Linked DNA regions of Homo sapiens: regions 1 and 2 are each linked to region 3. The links are contacts of gene promoters, found by promoter capture Hi-C in human tissues and cell types (Jung and others, 2019). All regions are on one chromosome and are shown on one strand. The core of a region is centred on a gene start or on the middle of the fragment in contact, and the rest is flanking DNA. Distances in the headings are between cores, read along the strand shown.

Region 1 (2,700 bases), core at 26-2,525, 300 kb after region 3:
CTGTGTCACATCTTGGTAATTCTCATGATGTTTCAAAGTTTTTCATTATTATTATATGTGTTATGATGATTTGTGATCAGTGATTTTTTGGTGTTACTAATAGAATTGTTTTGGGGTGCTACAAATGGTGCCCATATAAGGCAGCAAACAATCAACAAATGTGTATGTTCTGACTGCCTCACTGACGAGCTGTTCTTCATCTCTCTCTTTCTCCTGGGGATTCCCTATTCCCTAAGACACAACAATATTGAAAGTAGGCCAGTTAATAACCCTACAATGGCCTCTAAGTGTTCATGTGAAAGAAAGAGTCACAGGTCTCTCACTAGAAATCAAAAGCTAGAAATGATTAGGCCTACTGAGGAAGTCGTGTTGAAAGCTGAGATAGGCCCAAAGCTAGGCCTCTTGTACCAGTTAGCCAAGCTGTGAATAAAGGAAAATGTTCTTGAAGGAAATTAAAAGTGCTACTCCAGTTAACACACAAATGATAAAAAAGCAAAACAGCTTTATTTGCTGACAGGAAGGAAGTTCAAGTGGTCTGATTAGAAGATCAAACCAGCCACAACATTCCCTTAAGTTGAATCCTAATCCAAGGCAAGATCCTAAATCTCTTCAATGTTGTGAAGGTTGACAGAGGGGAGGAAGCTGCAGAAGAAAAGTTAGAAGCTAGCAGAGCTTGGTTCTTGAGGTTTAACGAGAGAAGCTGTCTCCACAACGTAAAGGTGAAGCAGCAAGTGCTGACATAGAAACCACAGCAAGTTAGTCGGAAGATCTAGCTAAGATAATTGGTGACAGTGGCTATGCTAAACAACAGATTTTAATGTAGGCAAAACAGTCTTCTCTTGGAAAAAGATGCCATCTACGACTTTCATAGCTAGAAAGGAGAAGTCAATGCCTGGCTTCAAAGTTTCAAAGAACAGGCTGACTTTCTCATTAGGGGCCAGGGCAGCTGGTGACTTCAAGTTAAAGTCAATGTTTACCATTCTGAAAATCCTAGGGTCTTTATGAATTTTCCACCCCTCAAGGTTCAAGTGATTCTTCTGCCTTAGCCTCCTGAGTAGCTGGGATTACAGGCACCCGCCACCACGCCCTGCTAACTTTTATATTTTTAGTAGAGACGGGGTTTCACCATATTGGCCAGGTTGGTCTCAAACTCCTGACCTCAAGTGACCCGCCCTCCTTGGCCTCACAAAGTGTTGGGATTACAGGCGTGAGCCACCACGCCAGGCTTCTAGGGCCTTTAATAATTATGCTAAATCTATTCTGCCTGTGATCTATCAAAGAAACAACAAAGCTTGGATGACAGCTCATCTATTTACAGCATGGTTTGCCAAATATATATATATATATATATATATATTTTTTTTTTTTTTTGAGATGGAGTTTCGCTCTTGTTGCCCAGGCTGGAGTGCAATTGTGCGATCTCAGCTCACTGCTATGTCTGCCTCCCGTGTTCAAGCAATTCTCCTGTCTCAGCCTCCCGAGTAGCTGGGATTACAGGCGCATGCCCCCATGCCTGGCTAATTTTTGTGTTTTTAGTAAAGACAGGGTTGCATCATATTGGTCAGGCTGGTCTCGAACTCCTGACCTCAGGTGATCTGCCCACCTCGGCCTCCCAAAGTGTTGGGATTACAGGTGTGAGCCACCGTGCCCGGCCAGTTTACCAAATATTTTAAGCCCACTGTTGAAACCTACTCCTTTCAAAATACTACTGCTCATTGACAATGTACCTGGTCACCCAGGATCTCTGATGGAGACATACAAGGAGATGAATGTTGTTTTCATGCTTGCTAACACAAAATCTATTCTGCAGCTCATGGAACAAGGAACAAATTTGACTTTCAAGTCTTATCATTTAAGAAATGTATTTTGTAAAGCTATAGCTGCCATAGACAATGATTCCTCTGATGGATCTGGGCAAAGTGAATTGAAAACCTCTGGAAAGAATCCACCATTCTAGAGGCCATTAAGAACATTCAAGGGCTGGGAATGGTGGCTCATGCTTGTAATCATAGCATTTTGGGAGGCTGAGGCATGAGGATCACTTGAGCCTAGGAGTTTGAGACCAGCCTGGCAACACAGGGGGACCCTGTCTACAAAAAGTGAAAAAGTTAGTCAGGCATGGTGGTGTGCTCTTGTGCTCTCAGCTACTCAGGAGGCTGAAGTGAGAGGATCGTTTGGGCCTGAGAGGTCGAGGGTGCAGTGAGCCATGATTGTGCCACTGCACTCCAGCCTGGGTGACAGAGTGAGACCTCGTCTGGAAAAAAAAAAAAAAAAAGGAAAGAAAAAGATATTCATGATTCATGGAGGAAGTCAAAATATCAACATTAACAGGAGTTTGGAAGAAGTTGATTCCAACCCTCATGGCTGACTTTGAGGGGCTCAGGATTTCAGTGGAGGAAATAACTGTAGATGTGGTGGAAATAGCAAGAGAACTAGAATTAGAAGTAGAACCTGAGGATATGACTGAATTGCTGCCATCTCATGATAAAACTTGAACAAATGAGGAGTTGCTTTTTAGGAATGAGCAAAGAAAGTGGTTTCTTGAGATGAAATCTACTCCTGTTGAAGATGCTGTAAATACTGTTGAAGTGACAAAGGATTTAGAATATTACATAAACATAGTTGATAAAGCAGCTGCAGGGTTTGAGAGGACTGACTTCAATTTTGAAAGAAGTTCTACTCTGGGTAAAATGCTGTCAA
Region 2 (2,700 bases), core at 172-2,671, 280 kb before region 3:
GAGGCTCTGGCTTGGGGGCTGTGTGCCTGCAGAACCAGTCTTCAGTATGGCATCATGTGTCTGAAGAGGCTGAATTATGACCGGAAGGAGCTGGAGAAGAGGCGAGAGGAGAGCCAGCATGAGATCAAGGGTAAGCTCGTCAGGCTTGGAGAGGGTTCGGGAGCAGCCTGCTTGGCTGGTCCCTGCCTTGGGCCAAGTGGAGGGGAGGCATTCTGTGTCTCAGGGAATCTTCCAGTCTGAAAAGGAAGATGCAGCCTCACCTTAGGGAGCTCCCAGTCTGATGGAGGAGACATAGTCCATGCCAAGTTGTCTATAATTCCCCTCCCTCAACCCCACATACCAGATAGCAGCCACCAACTGGACAAATGCAGTGAATCCTCTGGGACGGTGTTATAGACTGGTGTGCCTGTGGAACTTGTTGATCTGGATGGGGCTGGATGGGAGATGCAAGTCTTAGAGGAGACCTTGAAGGTGGAAAGAATAAGAAGGCCATTCCAGCTTGGGTCAGGGGGATGACCCGTGCAAGGGTTCTGGGGAGAAAGCTTGGAGCCTGTTGGCCTGACCCCGGGTCCTGTAAACTGGCAGGGATGGAGTGAGTGGGGGGTTGGTTCCCCAGGCACCCAGGTGCCAGGGAGGAGAGAAAGAAGATATGGAAATTTAGGGATGGAGTGGGGGTCAGAGAGCAGGGTGGACTGCGGCTCTGGGTTTAGGGAGCTCTGCTTCTGTCCTTGGAGGGCCCTTGATGAAACGTAGTATCTCCTTCCGTCCCTTTTCTTCCCCCACACTCCAGATGTGTTAGTCTGGACCAACGACCAGGTGGTTCATTGGGTCCAGTCTATTGGGCTCCGGGACTACGCAGGAAACCTGCATGAGAGTGGTGTGCATGGAGCCTTGCTGGCCCTGGACGAGAACTTCGACCACAACACACTGGCCCTGATCCTCCAGATCCCCACACAGAACACCCAGGTGGGCAGCCTTTTAATCAGTCAACTTGAGTCTCTCCCTGTATCCCTCACTTGCTCTCTTTCTTTCCCTCATACACAAAGGCTTAGGTATCTTGGGGGGTGGGGAGCTTTTCTAGGGCCTATGCCAGAGGGGATCGCAATGTCCTCAATTCTCCAAGTGATCGCTGTGCATAAGCAAGCCCTCATGGGAACACATGGCCTTCACATACAGAGCACACCTAGCGTGGGCCTGGCACACAGTGTGCTCTTACAATGCGCATCCCCGTCCTGCCCTGGGTACCTCTATCTCCTCCTAACCCCACTTCATAGCTGAGACTCTGAGCCTTCCTTTTCATCCTGCTTCTCTGATCTGACTTTTCTTAGAGGGGAATGAGCCCCAGGGCCCCTAGGGACCAGAGAGCCCATATCACCTTTGTCTACCACCCTAGGGATCTGCTCCTGGGCCCCCAGCCTTAAAAAAGCTAAATATACCAAATTACACAACCCAGAGCCTCTCCACACCAGGGCTTTGGCTCTCTGTCAACAGCTCAAATGATTAAACATCTCATGAAATTACATTTCATCATTTTTATGGAGCTGTCATCTAAGAATATATCTAAATTCTCTTGAACCTATTTATATTTTTGGCCTTTCTAACTTCCTGTGGGTAATAGATTCTAGAAGTACTGCTTGTTGTGTAGAGTACTTCCTGATTTTATTTGTCCTGAAAATGCCCCTGTCAGGCCCCTGGGGAAGGAACTACCTCCTCTTGATGGTTTAGGTTTGGTAAGGATATTTGTATTTAACTAGTTCTCACCTTTTATGATTTCATAAACTCTGATTGTATTGCCTCTGGGCCCAAGCCTTTGTCTCTCCAGACGGAGTGTTCTTAATTCTTTTAGGCTTTCCTCATATAGACTCGCCTCTGTCCCCTGATTGTTTTAGCTGCCCTTGTCTGGACTGTTTGCAGCTGTCAGATCTCTTTTGAAATTCAGCCACCAGAGCTGCACAGGCTATTCTGGGAGCAGACACGTTTTGGCTTGAATGAGGGTAGGGCTGTGTTGTCTCGTAATTCTGGGCAGTGTGTTGGCCTTTTGGGGGTGGTGGCAGTGCACAGGGCCATTGTGTCCTGTAGGCATTCTGCAGTGACCCCCCCGCCCCGCCCCCACCCCAACCAGTCAAAATAGATAGGACAGATCCCTTCATTCTCCAAGAGGAGCCTGGATTTTTCCCCCAAGTGCGTTCTCTCCACTTGCCCACTTCGGGCAAGCCTCGTCTGCCACTTTGCTGCCCACTCACCTCTCTTTGTGAGACGCTTCTGAAATTTACACCTATCCTCCTCACCTTTCACTGCCCAGAGGAGCAGTGTCATTTGGATACTTGAAATTTACTGTGCTTCTCCTTTCAGATCATTTCTAAAAATGTTATGTTCCCAATACTGGCACAGACTGTCCTTATGGAACTCTACGCTTAATATTTTCTACCTAGAAATGGACTTTTCTCTTTCTTTGATTTCCTATCTCTAATGCATTCAGTTTTGGAGGATAGCAGTAATTCTGTAAATAGTAGCAGGGACACCTCCCTATGGCTTTCTAACCTTTCTTAATTTCCTGACCCCGTCATTGAGCTTAGCTGTTGGGAGAAGTAGTGTGTGACCCAATACGGAATCCCTCATTTAAAATGGTTAAAAATGGCTCGGTGTGGTAGCTCAGGCCTGTATGCTCAGCATTTTGGGAGGTCAAGGTGGGAGGATTGC
Region 3 (2,700 bases), core at 10-2,509:
ACCCTGGCTCATCCACAGGCAGCCTCAGGCCTCAGACAAAGAGCCACAGTGTTTTGGAGAAGCTGACCCAACTGCCCACTGCCTGGGCAAGCTGGCTGGTTCCTGGCTCTGGCCAGGAGAGAAGACGAATGGAGCGGCCCACTGCCAACAGAGCATTTTTCCATGCACAGCCCTGGGCTGTTGCAGGACCAAGGTGGCTGTCTGGAGGGCTGGCACAGTGAGCCTCTGTCTCCGTTTCTCCTTCTTTCAGACTGGGCACCTTGGCAGACAAGAGCCACCTTCCCCTTCAGACTCAGCTTTCTAGGGGCTGTGCACCCTGCCCACTTCAGCCTCTTCTTAGAGCCATGGGTGCTGAAAGGGTTTGATGGGGAGCTTATGCCTCTCCTTACCCCATCCCATCTCTTAGCAATGTTGCTTCAGGGTTGCATAGTCTTACACTGTTTCCCATAATGCTAGAGGCCCTCCTGTGCTCAGAGTTTCTGTAAGGTCGAAAGTTTCCAGGACTGCCACACTATCAGCTGGGGGAAGTTTACTCAGGAGCTACTGCTGTTCTTTCATTTCTCCACTCTAGAGAAAGATCTCTCCCTCCTATCAGTGGAGAAGGTCAAGCCAGAGGCCATCCCCTCACCTGGATTGCATCCCCACCCCAATCCACAGCTCCCTGGACATGGCCAGTTCTCAATGCTTCTTTTTATTCTCTCCTTTCCACTCCAAACACACACACACACACACACACACACACATTCTACACAAAAGTTTCCCCCTCTCCCATAATAGCATTTATGTACCAAACCCCTCTATAAGAGAGATTGCAGGGACATCCAGGTCTTGGAATACCCTTCAAAATGCCCACACTCCCAGCATGATGGGATTTATGAGTAGCAGGGAAGAAGCTTCCCTAGACAGAGGGTCCTTCACTTTTTCATGCCTGAGAATTGGAGGTCCCCTCAGCACCCATAAAGGAACTGTAAGAGAAAGGTACAGGGCTGGAACCCCTCCCTTATACACCCTCTCTGCCACTCTCCAGCATCCCTGGGGTCATGGCCCAGATGTGGAGAAGGAGGAATGAACCCTCCCTGCCTCCCCATCTCCCCTATCCCCTACCACTTTTCCTTTATTTCTTTTAAGGAACTGCTAGGGACAAACCCGAAGTAAAACGACTATACTTACCTCAAGTTGAACTTTTCAGAGAGTGACCACGTCCCTCTGTCTGGCCTCCTTGGGTTGGAGAACGTGTGAGAGAGGAAGAGAGAGAGGAGTGAAAGAGTCTACTGAGAGTGTGCGTGCCTGTGCCAGACCAGGGTCCCGCCCCAAATTCCTAATCAAATATTGTGAAAAGGGGCTGAGGAACCCGGATCCTGGTTTTTTTCAGCTCTGCTGCAGGGGCGGAGTTCACGCTCAACCACGCAAATCCTTCGGTCCGCCTGACGCTATAAAAACCACCTTTTTTCCACTCACTTATCTTCCCTGAAACATTGGCAGCCCTGGGTCCCTTTCTGCTGAATGAGTTAGTGGCGCCCTAGAAGTTATTTGTACAGTCTCTTATGAAGCGCCTGGATTTCTCATTAAAGCCACAAAGGCAGATGCAGGGATGGGGAGGGCCAGGGTTTGGTAAGAGACATCTTAACTCCTTCAGCAACCCACATGTCCCTCCAGAGAGCGAGAACTCGCGCTTCTCAGCTCCCCCTATAGACAGGTCATCAGGCTAGTGGATAAGGGAGCATGAATGACAAGGGACAGCCGGCTCTGGTTCCAGTTCTATCCCTAAGCAGTGTAGACTTTTCTAGGCTACAGGTCCTGCCCACCTCCACCACTGGAACAAAAGGAAAGGCAGGGACTCCAGCATTTGCTGATCACTGCTTATGCACTAGCATCATCCACTTCCACTTAATGCTCACAACAAATTCAGAGTTAATAACACTTACCTTGCTGGGTTGTAGCAAGGACTGTATCAGGTGATGTGTGGGAGGCTCCTGACCTGGCACATAGCTGAGGTTCACTGTGTCCTACCCATTTCACAGCCATAGAATTCCTCAGCCAGGGAAAGACAAGATCAGAAAGCTGGGCAGGAGCTGTACCATGAAAGGACTTTTGGGCGATGGAAGTGATTTGGTTTTTATTCTAAATGTTTTTGTTGTTGTTGTTGTTGTTTGTTTGTTTGAGAAGGAGTCTCAGCTGGGCGTGGTGGCTCATGCCTGTAATCCCAGCACTTTGGGAGGCCGAGGCAGGAGGATCATGAGGTCAGGAGATCGAAAAGGAGTCTCGCTGTGTCGCCCAGGCTGGAGTGCAGTGGCACAATCTCTGCTTTCTGCAACCTCCGCCTCCCAGGTTCAAGCCGTTCTCCTGCCTCAGCCTCCTGGGTAGCTGGGACTACAGGCACACGCCACCACGCCCAGCTAATTTTTTGTATTTTTAGTAGAGACAGGGTTTCATCATATTGGTCAGGCTGGTCTTGAACTCCTAAACACAGGTGATCCACCCACCTCAGTGCCCCAAAGTGCTGGGATTACAGGCGTGCGTCATCCGGTCCGGCCTATTCTAAATGTTTAAAAAAAAAAACATGTTTCAAGCAGGAGAAGCCATGGGATCTGATTTGCATGGGATCTAATTTACATTTTAAAAGCATGTAGGAGGGGCTGCTGTATGGAGAAGGGGAGGCCAGGGTGGAAGCAGGGAGGCTCCAACCCAGCCTCAAGGAGA

The links. The method cuts DNA at HindIII sites, captures the fragments that hold promoters and counts their contacts. A contact is called where the count stands out against the background at its distance.
Region 1: a fragment that was not itself captured here is called in contact with the fragment with the promoter of FMOD in region 3 in 1 of the 25 tissues and cell types used here (H1 embryonic stem cells).
Region 2: a contact is called between a fragment that was not itself captured here and the fragment with the promoter of FMOD in region 3, in 2 of the 25 tissues and cell types used here (heart right atrium and mesenchymal stem cells).

Annotation. Positions count from the first base shown.
Region 1 is chr1:203,652,630-203,655,329 of GRCh38, forward strand. All of the region lies in intron 1 of ATP2B4 (ATPase plasma membrane Ca2+ transporting 4), which reads left to right. Among named protein-coding and RNA genes, the nearest start is that of ATP2B4, 27 kb to the left of the region's middle. The HindIII fragment of the contact is 3,712 bases long and covers 1-2,700 here.
Region 2 is chr1:203,067,663-203,070,362 of GRCh38, forward strand. It overlaps PPFIA4 (PPFI scaffold protein A4), which reads left to right. Exons shown (of 30, transcript NM_001304331.2): 26 at 33-130; 27 at 791-966. LOC105371687 (a long non-coding RNA gene) reads right to left here and starts at 26. Exons shown (of 2, transcript XR_922432.2): 1 at 1-26. RefSeq lists an enhancer at 1,805-1,854. The HindIII fragment of the contact is 8,794 bases long and covers 1-2,700 here.
Region 3 is chr1:203,349,863-203,352,562 of GRCh38, forward strand. FMOD (fibromodulin) reads right to left here and starts at 1,260. Exons shown (of 3, transcript NM_002023.5): 1 at 1,171-1,260. The HindIII fragment of the contact is 7,092 bases long and covers 1-2,700 here.